Linked DNA regions of Homo sapiens: regions 2 and 3 are each linked to region 1. The links are contacts of gene promoters, found by promoter capture Hi-C in human tissues and cell types (Jung and others, 2019). All regions are on one chromosome and are shown on one strand. The core of a region is centred on a gene start or on the middle of the fragment in contact, and the rest is flanking DNA. Distances in the headings are between cores, read along the strand shown. Region 1 holds the start of TUBB3 (tubulin beta 3 class III). Region 2 overlaps FANCA (FA complementation group A). Region 3 overlaps LINC02166 (long intergenic non-protein coding RNA 2166).

What was found. The method cuts DNA at HindIII sites, captures the fragments that hold promoters and counts their contacts. A contact is called where the count stands out against the background at its distance.
Region 2: a fragment that was not itself captured here is called in contact with the fragment with the promoter of TUBB3 in region 1 in 1 of the 25 tissues and cell types used here (dorsolateral prefrontal cortex).
Region 3: a fragment that was not itself captured here is called in contact with the fragment with the promoter of TUBB3 in region 1 in 3 of the 25 tissues and cell types used here (lymphoblastoid cells, small bowel and spleen).

What each region holds. Positions count from the first base shown.
Region 1 is chr16:89,920,376-89,924,591 of GRCh38, reverse strand. It overlaps TUBB3 (tubulin beta 3 class III), which reads right to left and starts at 1,250. Exons shown (of 4, transcript NM_006086.4): 1 at 1,134-1,250. The coding sequence starts at 1,190. MC1R (melanocortin 1 receptor) reads right to left here. Exons shown (of 1, transcript NM_002386.4): 1 at 3,620-4,216. RefSeq lists silencers at 994-1,243, 1,324-1,473, 1,494-1,583 and enhancers at 1,437-1,731, 1,654-2,537, 3,424-4,216. The HindIII fragment of the contact is 8,728 bases long and covers 404-4,216 here.
Region 2 is chr16:89,751,007-89,755,147 of GRCh38, reverse strand. FANCA (FA complementation group A) reads left to right here. Exons shown (of 43, transcript NM_000135.4): 31 at 2,926-3,010. Among named protein-coding and RNA genes, the nearest start is that of ZNF276, 32 kb to the right of the region's middle. The HindIII fragment of the contact is 5,421 bases long and covers 1-3,960 here.
Region 3 is chr16:89,683,077-89,686,128 of GRCh38, reverse strand. LINC02166 (long intergenic non-protein coding RNA 2166) reads left to right here. Exons shown (of 3, transcript NR_184152.1): 2 at 454-1,319; 3 at 2,953-3,052. Among named protein-coding and RNA genes, the nearest start is that of CDK10, 2.1 kb to the left of the region's middle. The HindIII fragment of the contact is 5,110 bases long and covers 1-3,052 here.

The sequences.
Region 1 (4,216 bases), core at 1-2,500:
CTGCCTTTCTCTGGCCCCTTCCCCTCCAGGACCGTCTCCTGCACCCCCTCCTTCCCAGAATCAGCGCTGCACCAGCCCTGAGCTGGGTCCCTGGCCTTGGTCCTGACAAAGCCAGCCTCCCCCCCCGATCCCCTGTTCCCCAACACTGTTCGGAGGGCAGATCCTTTGGCAAGCAGCGCCCCCAACCCGCCCCGCCCGAGCCCCAGGTTGGCTCCTGCAGGGGATGAGAACCAAGGGCCAGCCCAGCTCTCTCGCACCTGCTGTGTGACCTTGGGCCAGGGACAGCCTCCCAGGACCAGGGGACACGACGTCCCCTTAATGATTTAGGCAGGGGTCCCTGCACAGCTGCACCAACGCCCCTTTCTGCGTGGCCCCAACATCTGCGAGGTGGGCTAACAATGGAGGGAGGGGCGCGCCACGGTGCAGCCTCCACACCCCACAGCCCGGCTTTGTTCCCACATCCAATCCCCAGACTGGTAGACCCTGGGTGGGCGCGGTCAAGCCCCGCGGGGGTTGCCCAGGAGCGGCTGCGCCGATGGAGAGCCTGGTCCTGGACCAAGGTCATCTCGAGTCCAGGCCCAACCCCTCCAACAAAGGGACAGGGTGGAGCTAGGACGCCGAGGGGTGTCGGAGCAGGCTGGGGAAATCGGGGCGGCTCTAGCCTCTCGGGGGACGTTCGGCTACTCCAGTGGGGGGTTCGGGCCGAGGAAATCACGGCTGTGAGGAGAACCCCCCACCCCACCCAAACCTGCCTACCCCACCCGTCTCACTCAAGGCTATGCCGCGGCCCCAAAAAAGAGGGCCACGCCCAGACAGGGCTCCCAGCTGCACCTGCGGAGGCCCGGTGGAGGGGGTGCAGGTGTGGAGGGGGCGCAGGTGTGGAGGGGGCTGAGGCTTCGCGACTGACGTGAGCTGCGCCTCGACAGCCCGAGGTCACCTGGGCAGGGGCAGAGAGGTGCAGGCGAGAGTCCCAGGGCGGGGGCCCCGCGTCCCGGCCGCCCGGCGCGGCGCTGGGCGCATCCCTTTGTTGCAGGTTCGCAGGGGCGGGGGCAGCTGGAGGTGCGGCCCGCGGGGCACGGCGCCTCCCTCCTCCCGCCCCGGGGCCCGGGACAGGCCGGGGCGCGCAGCCTCACCTTGGCCCCGATCTGGTTGCCGCACTGGCCGGCCTGGATGTGCACGATCTCCCTCATACTGGGCGCGTCTGGCGGGCGGCTGCGGACGGGCGCGGGCGGGCCGGGCTGGCTGCTGAGGGTCGGGGACCGCGGCCGCGCGCTCTTATAGCCGCGGCCCCGCCCTTCGCATCGGCTGATGTCACCGCGGGTGGCCAATCGGGAGGCGCCGCCGCAGAGCCCCGCCCGGCCCGCAGGCTCCGCACCGCGCGTCCCCGCCCGCCGCGCGCAATGCGGCGCCCCTCCCGCAGCCAAGGATCCCCCAGCGCTGGGCCGGGCGCGGTCTGAGGGCCCCGCGCATTCGAAAGGAGGGGCTGTCTCCCAGAGGAGCTGGCTGTGGGGGCGCCGGGCTCCAGGGAGGACAATGGCCCCTCTTGGCCCTGGGAACCCCGCCCCCAGCTACCCTCTCGGTTCCGCCCTTGCGACAGCCCCACCCTGCGGCTTTGTACGGAGGGTCTTTTTTCCCCACGCCGGTTTAGAGACCAACCCGCACCATCCCAGCTCCCTGTCTTTTGGCAGACAAGGTGCTCTGAGCTTTTGCCGGTTTTGGGTGGGGGAGGTAGGTAAAGGCTGGCCCAGGCCCTGAACCCACTGAGAAGAAACAAAGCGTCGGATCAGAGCTCGGAAGGGCGCGAACACAGAGGGGTGGCGGCGGCCGAGAGCGAGCTCCGTGGGTCGCCGGCTTCCGCAGTGGGCGGGGAGGGGGTGGGCACCCGACCTCCTCCACCAAGGGGCTGCCATGAGCGTCCAAAGGAGCTTTGTGGGCCCGGGCGCGCACAGCACCTGGACGTGCCACTGCCCGGTGCGCATCCGTGTCAGGAATTGTCACAAGGACGCACAAGCCAGGCAAGAACCCGGCCAGGGTGGGGGAGGGTGGGCAGCGGCTTCTATCTGACTCACTCTCTGAGGTCGGAGACTGCGTGCAGGGGGGCCTCGGGGGAGCGACTGGAGATGCGTTTACTGGTCAGAGAAGGAAGGGAGCAAAGGACTCGCCGGCACGGCACTGACCTCCTCCTGGGCCAGATATTACAGTGCCACCACCTTAGAACAAGGGCCTTCTGATACTTCAGTAACAAAAATCCTTCAGGAAGGGTCTGACAGTGCACGATGTACAGACGAACCCCACCCGGCCCCCAAATCAGCATTCACTTCACAAAATGAGCAGCTGCGAACTTGCCTGTGGACGCCTGTGTCCGGTCTGTGTGCACAGGGCTGTGTGTGGGTGGCGTGGACCTGTACCTGTCTCTCTCTTTTCTCTCAAGAAGCTCTCCAGTTTGGAAAGTCGAGAAATGGATCTTTTGTTCTCAAGAGATGCCCCTCCCTGCCCCACAGTGTGCTCGTGTGGCTGCTGCTGGGGTCTAGCTGCCTGGGGTTCCTCCCTGTCCCTGTTCAAGGGAGTCCGGGGTGAGTGTCTGAGGTGCCTCCCTGTCTCCACGAGGGAAGAAGTTTTGCAGCCTCAGGGCAGCCAGCTCCTGCTCCATCCTCAGAGGGGTCTGGTGCCGGGCTTAAGGCTGACTCACCGTCCGGTCTCCCAGCAGAGGCGGGCCCTGCCAGGAAGCAGCTCCCAGTTCTGAGGCCGGCAGTCAGGGGTGGGGCTGGCCAGGGGGCTGCTGACTGAGCCTGCGTAGGAGTCGGCTGATGGCCCTGCAGCCTCCATTGAGCCTGTCCCAGGAAGGGGGCTGACTGAGTGCTCAGTCTCTGCAGAGGAAATGGAGGTGGTCTCTTCAGCGAGACGCCCAGGTTTCAGCAGAGGGATGGCCCAGGGGCGCCACTGCTCCCCAGCACCAGGCAGCATAGTTCATCCCCAGGTACTCACTCCCAGGGACTTCTCCGCCGGCTGGGCCTCTGCCTCACTGCCATCTTCAGAAGCCTCACATCAAGCATTTCCCAGGACTGGCTGAACACAGACCCTCCACCCCCGACCCCTTCCCCACCTGCCTACTCCCAGAATGGCAGTGCTGGGCAGACAGCAGACCCAGCCCCCAGCCCACCTGCACTGAGCCCCCTTCCAGGCATCTCAGAGTGGACAGGGATGGTCCCATTCACGGCTCATCATGGCTGGAGGGACTCAGGGCCAGGGCCAGCAAAGGGATGTGTCCCGGCTGAGGTCACATGTGGTCACAGGGAAGGCTGGGAACCCGCCTCTTCTGCAGCTAGGACAGCGTCAAGAGTGGAGGGGACTGGGGCCCTGCTGCACCTGCTCGTCCTTCCTCTAGGCTGGGGTTTGTCAGCACGGAGAGAAAACCGAGAAGCAGGGTCAGCGCAAGCCTGGTTGGGACCTCCACACTCCCCAGGCATTTGGGGCCTCTGGGGCTGTGGCTTCCTCACCTGGGGAGGCAGCCACGTTTTCCGGGACTCCTTTCTTCCCTCTCGACTCTCACCCCTGCCCACCTTCCCCTCCCCCATCCCTCCACCCGCAAACTTCAAGCACTTTCTGGAAGGGGCTAAGGTGGGTGATGCTGAGTCACATTTATTACCAGACTTTCCTGGCCCCATGCTCACAGGCACTGGTCACTGAGTCAGGCATTTGCCAGGGCTGTCTGCTTGGGCGACTGCTGCAGGAAAGCAGGCTGAGGCCCCAGTGCCCAGTCTGAGCCTTAGAACCGGCCCTCAGGAGGGCTCAGCCCCATACCACTAGGGGGGCTCCTGCAAACCTGGTCCCTTGGCCTGAGGCAGGGATTTCACCTCCTTTTGCAGGAGCCGCTGCAAGGCTGTGGATGAAGCTTTCTGGTCACAAAGCCCCTTCTCCTGGGGCTGCTGTGGGAGTAGCTCTTGGCACACACTTCCACCCAGAGACTTCACATCCCAGCTGACGAGGGCACGGTCCTGAGAGCTGGCAGCAAAGATGGGGTGGGGTGGATGCTGCTCAGTCATTGGAGCAGACGGAGTGTCCCAGGAGTGGGCGGAAAATGTCTCTTTAGGAGCCTGAGGTTGGCCCCTGGTGCCCGGAGCCTGAGGCCCCACAACCTCCCCATGTCCTCCTCCGTTCCCCACGACTGCTGGTGAGAAGTCCTGCCTGGAGTTTTGCAGGGACCCCTCCCTGGACC
Region 2 (4,141 bases), core at 1-2,500, 170 kb after region 1:
TGTTGAAAACACTTCTTTCCCCACTGAATGGTCTTGGCACCCTTGTCAAAAGTTAGATGGCTGCTCGTGTGAGGGTTTGTTTCTGGCTCTCATTGTGTTCCCTTGGTCTGTATGTCCATATGCACTGCGTCATTGGGATGAAGCTTTGTAGTAGGTTTTAAAATTGGGAAGTGTGAGGCCTCCAACTTGGTTCTTCTTTTTCAGGATGGTTTGGCTTTTCTAGGTGCTTTGTAGTTGTGTCTTAATTTTGGGATGAGCTTGTCAGTTTCGACAAAAGTAGCTGGGACCCTGATACGGACTGCATGTGGGGCAGTATTGCCATCTCAGTGATAGCGAGTCTTCTTTCCTTTTGAATCATTTGTTGCTAACGTATAGAAACACCAGTGATTCTTGTATATTCATTGGCTCTAGTCATTTATTAGTTCTAAGAGTGTTTTTGTATCGATTCCTTAGGGCTTTGTATATATAAGATCGTGTCTGGCCAGGCATGGTGGCTCATGCCTGTAATCCCAGCACTTTGGGAGGGTGAAGTGGGCGGATCATGAGGTCAGGAGTTGGAGACCAGCCTGGCCAACATGGTGAAACCCCATCTCTACTAAAAATACAAAAATTAGCCGGGCATCGTGGTGGGCTCCTGTAATCCGTTACTTGGGAGGCTGAGGCAGAAGAATCACTTGAACTCAGGAGGCAGAGGTTGCAGTGAGTTGAGATCATGCCACTGCAACTCCAGCCTGGGCGACAAGAGTGAAACTCAGTCTCAAAACAAAAAAACAAAAGAAAGATCATATAATATGTGAAGAGAGATAGTTTCACTTTTTCCTTTCCTATCTGGATGCTTTTTCTTTTTCTTGTTGAATTGCCCCGGCTTGAACTCCCCGGGCAGTGTTGTTTTTTTTGTTGTTGTTTTGTTTTGTTTTTTTTTTTCTGAGACGGAGTCTCGCTCTGTCACCCAGGCTGGAGTGCAGTGGTGCAATCTCGGCTTACCGAAACCTTCGCCTCTCAGGTTCAAGCGATTCTCCTGCCTCAGCCTCCCGAGTAGCTGGGATTACAGGCACCCGCCACCATGCCCAGCTAATTTTTGTTTGTTTGTTTTTGAGACAGAGTGTCGCTGTGTGTCCCAGGCTGGAGTACAGTGGCACTATCTCAGCTGTCTGCAACCTCCGCCTTCCAGGTTCAGGCAATTCTGCTGCCTCAGCCTCCCAATAGGTGGGATTACTGGCGTCCGCTAACACGCCCGTCTAATTTTTGTATTTTTAGTAGAGATAGGGTTTCGCCACATTGGCCAGGATGGTCTCGATCTCCTGACCTCAGATGATCTGCCTGCCTCGGCCTCCCAAAGTGCTGGGATTACAGGCGTGAGCCACCGTGTCTGTCCCCAGTGCAGTGTTGAGTAGAGGCAGCGACACTGTTCTGAGTGTAGAGAGGACATCCTTGTTGCCCCTGATCTTAGGAGAACAGCTTTCAGTCTTTCCTCATTAAATCTGACGTTTGCTGTGGGTTTTCATCCATGCCAGGCACTAGATTGAGAAGATTTCCTTTGTTCCTGGTTGATTGAGTGTTTTTATCACAAAAGGATGTCACATTTCGTCAAGTGCTTTTTCTACATCTATTGAGATAATCTTACGGTTTTTGCTTTTTATTTTATTGATAACTGCGTTATATTGGTTTGGGGATCTTAAGCTATCCTTGTGTAGGGACCAGCCCCGGAGGGTCGGTGGGTCTCTCCCTGTGTGCGGCGATGAGAGAGTGTAGAAATAAAGACACAAGACAGAGATAAGAGAAAAGGCAGCTGGGCCCGGGGGACCACTACCACCAATGCGCGGAGACCGGTAGTGGCCCCGAGTGTCGGGCTGCGCTGTTACTTATTGGATACAAGGCAGAAGGGGCAGGGTAAACAATGTGAGTCACCTCCAATGATAGGTAAGGTCACGTGGGTCACATGTCCACTGGACAGGGGGCCCGTCCCTGCCTGGCAGCTGAGGCAGAGAGGGAGAGGAGACAGAGAGAAAGACAGCTTACGCCATTATTTCTGCATATCAGGGACTATTAGTATTTTCACTAATTTGCTACTGCTATCTGGAAGGCAGAGCCAGGTGTACAGGATGGAACATGAAGGTGGACTAGGAGCATGACCACTGAAGCACAGCATCACAGGGAGACGGTGAGGCCTCCGGATAACTGCGGGCGAGTCTGACTGATGTCAGGCCCTCCACAAGAGGTGGAGGAGCAGAGTCTTCTCTAAACTCCCCGGGGGAAAGGGAGACTCCCTTTCCCGGTCTGCTAAGTAGTGGGTGTTGTTCCTTGACACCTTTTGCTACCGCTGGACCACGATCCGCTTGGTGACGGGCGTCTTCCCAGACGCTGGCATCACCGCTAGACCAAGGAGCCCTCTGGTGGCCCTGTCCGGGCACAACAGAAGGCTCGCACTCTTGTCTTCTGGTCACACCTCAGTATATCCCCTCAGCTCCTATCTCTGTATGGCCTGGTTTTTCCTAGGCTATGATTATTGAGTGAGGATTATCATAATATTGGAATAAAAAGTAATTGCTACCAACTAATGATTAATGATATTCATATGTAATCATATCTAAGATCTATATCTGGTATAACTATTCTTGTTTTATATTTTATTATACTGGAACAGCTCGTGTCCTCTGTCTCTTGCCTTGGTGCCTGGGTGGCTTGCCACCCACATCCTTGCATTCTTGGGATAAGCCTCCTTGGTCATGGTACATAATTTTTGTATTTCCTAGGTTGGGGTTGGTAGTATTTTGTGGCAGTTTTTGTTGTTTATTGTTGACTAATGTGAGGGTCACACTGTCAGAGAAGCACAGCCATCACTCAGCTCCGGAGGCAGGAGGAGAACTGGGAACTTCAGCACTATTAGGCGATACTGAGGAGGATTTTATTGTATTTTCATTTCAGCTCAAGGAGTTATGACCACTCAGAAAATTCTGATTTGGTCTTTGGTGGCCGCACAGGAAATGAGGATATTATTTCCAGATTGCAGGTGAGTTTGAGGGTGCCACAACTCAGTGCATTCACTTCATTTAAGCCGCGTGCTATTAAGATATTTATTGCCAGGCGCGGTGGCTCACGCCTGTAATCCCAGAACTTTGGGAGGCCGAGGCAGGCGGATCACACAGTCAGGAGATCGAGACCATGCTGGCTAACACGATGAGACCCCGTCTCTACTAAAAATACAAAAATTTAGCCGGGCGTGGTGGCGGGCACCTGTAGCCCCACCTACTCGGGAGGCTGAGGCAGGAGAATGGCATGAACCCAGGAGGCGGAGCTTGCAGTGAGCCGAGATTGTGCCACTGCACTCCAGCCTGGGCGGGCGACAGAGTGAGACTCCGTCTCAAAAAAAAAAAAAAGATATTTATTGTTGGCTCAGGCTTGTAATCCCAGTACTTTGGGAGTCCGAGGCTGGTGGATCACCTGAAGTCTATACAGGTAGGCAGCATGTACCTGTGTGGGTTCACTGTCAGTCAACAGGCATTTACTGGTGCTGGCCACCCGTGCGTCTTCTGTGCCAGGCCCCTGTCTCTCCCTCCGCCAGCTCTGGGGCCTCCCAACTCCTTAGCCAGATGCTTTCCCTAGACCCACCTGGCTCCTTCTCAGTGAGACCATCTGCTTTTTCCTCTTAATTGTAATCATAATTATTATTATTATTGGGACAGGGTCTTGCTCTGTCACCCAGGCTAGAGTACAGTGGTGCGATCATATCTCTCTGCAGCCTTGACTTCCTGGGCTCAAGCAATCCTGACAGCGTGCACCTGTGTGCGCCACCACACCCAGCTGATTTTTTGTAGAGACGGAGTTTTGCCATGTTGCCCAGGCTTGTCTCGAACTCCTGGGCCCAAGTGAACCACCCATCTCGGTCTCCAAAATTGTTGGATTACAGGCGTGAGCCACTGCACCTGATCTTTATTCTTCTTTAAAAAATACAGCCGGCCAGGCACGGTGGCTTATGCCTGTAATCCCAGCACTTTGGGAGGCTGAGGTGGCTAGATCACTTGAGGTCAGGGGCTCAAGACCAGTTTGGCCAACATGGTGAAACCCCATCTCTACTAAAAATACAAAACACTAGTCAAGCATGGTGGTGTGTACCTATAGTCCCAGCTACTCAGGAAGCTGA
Region 3 (3,052 bases), core at 233-2,732, 240 kb after region 1:
AGAGGGTCCTCCAGTTGGGAGTCCTTCAGGTGGGGTGGTCCTCCAGGTGAGAGAGTCTTCCAGGTGAGAGGGTCCTCCAGGTGAGAGGTGAAGGTGAAGGTCCTCCAGGTGAGGGTCAGGTCACTTGGTCCAGGGATGTGGCTTCAGCAAGCATTTGGGTGCCTCCTCTGTGTTCAGGACATGGGGACTCCAGGAGACTGAAGGAAGCAAGTGGCAATGTCCATGCTGTCAAGTTCTGTCACAGAAATAAGCAGGAGTGAGTGAAAGACAGGAGAGAAGCTCTGTGAGGGGTGGCATTCAAGCTTAGCTTCTGGGCAGGAAGAGGCAGCTATGTCAGCATTCCCTAACAAGGTTTGGCAAAGTAGATACCTCCCCTCACTCATGGAAGACCTGACTTCCCAGGCTGGTAGAAGCTTCTCTCACAGGCACCTGCCTCTCCAATCTCTTTCACAGCCCAGCCCTGGAAGGTGGAAAAAGAAAAGTTGACATGGAATGTTTAGGAAGCACCATTGGTCCAGGTCCAGGATCGGGGCAGCCAGCATGTCCTCTAATCTGGCTTCACTGTTGAAATCCAGTCGAGCAAGCAGGGCCCAAACCACTGCGAGACCAGCTCGGTCGGGCCCAAACCACCGCCCACTGCGAGACCAGCTCGGTCGGGCCCAAACCACCGCCCACTGCGGGACCAGCTCGGTCGGGCCCAAACCACCGCCCACTGCGGGACCAGCTCGGTCGGGCCCAAACCACTGCCCACTGCGGGACCAGCTCGGTCGTGGAGACCCTAACCCAGCGGCGCTAGAGGAATTAAAGAAACACACACAGAAATATAGGGTGTGGAGTGGGAAATCAGGGGTCTCACAGCCTTCGAAGCTGAAAGCCTCGAACAGAGATTTACCCACATATTTATTGACAGCAAGCCAGTGATAAGCATTGTTTCTATAGATTATAGATTAAAAGCACTTCTTACGGGAAATAAAGGGATGGGTCTGGCTAGTTATCTGCAGCAGGAGCACGTCCTTAAGGCACAGATCGCTCATGCTATTGTTTGTGGTTCAGGAACTCCTTTAAGCGGTTTTCCGCCCTGGGTGGGCCAGGTGTTCCTTGCCCTCATTCCAGTGTGGGAGTCATGGCCATCATGAGCATGTCACAGTGCAGCAGAGATTTTGTTTATGGCCAGTTTTGCGGCCAGTTGATGGCCAGATTTGGGGGCCTCTTCCCAACAGCCCACAGCCAGACCTAGACTCCATTCAGATTGGTTTTGATCAGCATGTAGAAAATGGGGGAGTTGAGTGTGGTATACAAAATGGGGGTGTTGGCCAGGCGTGGTGGCTCATGCCTGTAATCCCAGCACTTTGGGAGTCTGAGGCGGGTCGATCACGAGGTCAGGAGATAGAGACCATCCTGGCTAACACAGTGAAACCCCATCTCCACTAAAAAATACAAAAAATTAGGCAGGCATGGTGGCGGGTGCCTGTAGTTGCAGCTACTCGGGAGGCTGAGGCAGGAGAATGGTGTGAACCCACGGGGCGGAGCTTGCAGTGAGCCAAGATCACACCACTACACTCCAGCCTGGGTGACAGAGTGAGACTCTGTCTCAAAAAAAAAAACAAAAAAAAAAGAAAATGCAGGTGTTGTGACCAGGCACAGTGGCTCATGCCTATAATCCCAACACTTTGGGAGGCCGAGGTAGGCAGATCACTTGAGGTCAGGAGTTCGAGACCAGCCTGGCCAACATGGTGAAACCCCGTCTCTACTAAAACTAACAAAATTAGCTGGGTGTGGTGGTGGTTGCCTGTAGTCCCAGGTACTCGGGAGGCTGAGGCAGGAGAATCGCTTGAACCCGGAAGGCGGAGGTTGCAGTGAGCCAAAATCGTGCCACTGCACTCCAGCCTGGGTAACAGAGTGAGACTTTGTGAAAGGAAGGAAGGAAGGGAGGGAGGGAGGAAAATAGAGGGAAGAAGAAAGAAAGAAAACAAAGAGCACGTGGAGAGAACAATCCTAGAAAACTGACGTAGGCTGTGTTCCTCTGAAGTCCATACACAGCAGGCAGGCGTGAAAGTGGTTTATGTATATAAATAGGTACCATTATTCTCTTCTGAGGTTTAAGTTGTCTAGCTTTCGTTCGCAGAGCTTTAAGAAAAGCACGGCTTTGGCCCGGCGCAGTGGCTCATGCCTATAATCCCAGCACTTTGGGAGGCCGAGGCCGGTGGATCATGAGGTCAGGAGTTCGAGACTAGCCTGGCCAACATGGTGAAACGCATCTCTACTAAAAATACAAAAAAATGAGCTGGCCATAGTGGTGCACACCAATAATCCCAGCTACTCGGGAGGCTGAGGCACGAGAATCACTTGAACCCAGGAGGCAGAGGTTGCAGTGAACTGATACCACACCACTGCCCGGGTGACAGAGTGAGACCCTGTCTGAAAAAACAAATAAACAAACAAAAAAAGAGAAAATAATAAAAGTTGAAAAACCTTAGGCAAGGCTAGAATCTAATAACAGGTATACTATAGTTTATTTTGAAACATAATTTTTCTCTCTCTAGTCTCCTATTTTTACCAAAGTGAAATCAGGTAGTACTGATTTGTTTTCAAAATAAGTTTTAGTCTTATTGTACTTGGCCTGGTTATTTGTATAAACTGTAGCAAGAATAAATATTTACCATGTAGGCTTTTTTTTTTTTTTTTTTTTTTGAGACGGAGTCTTGCTCTGTCGCCCAGGCTGGAGTGCAGTGGTGCGACCTCGGCTCACTGCAAGCTCCGCCTCCCAGGTTCACGCCATTCTCCTGCCTTAACCTCCCAAGTAGCTGGGACTACAGACGCCCGCCACCACGCCCGGCTAATTTTTTGTGTATTTTTAGTAGAGACGGGGTTTCACTGTGTTGACAAGGATGGTTGCAATCTCCTGACTTCGTGATCTGCCCGCCTTGGCCTCCCAAAGTGCTGGGATTACAGGCGTGAGCCACCGAGCCCGGCCACAAAAATTGTATCATTGAGAAAATTATGCCAATTGGGGAAGATCTGATGTAGCCAAACCCCCTTTGACCTTTAGCCT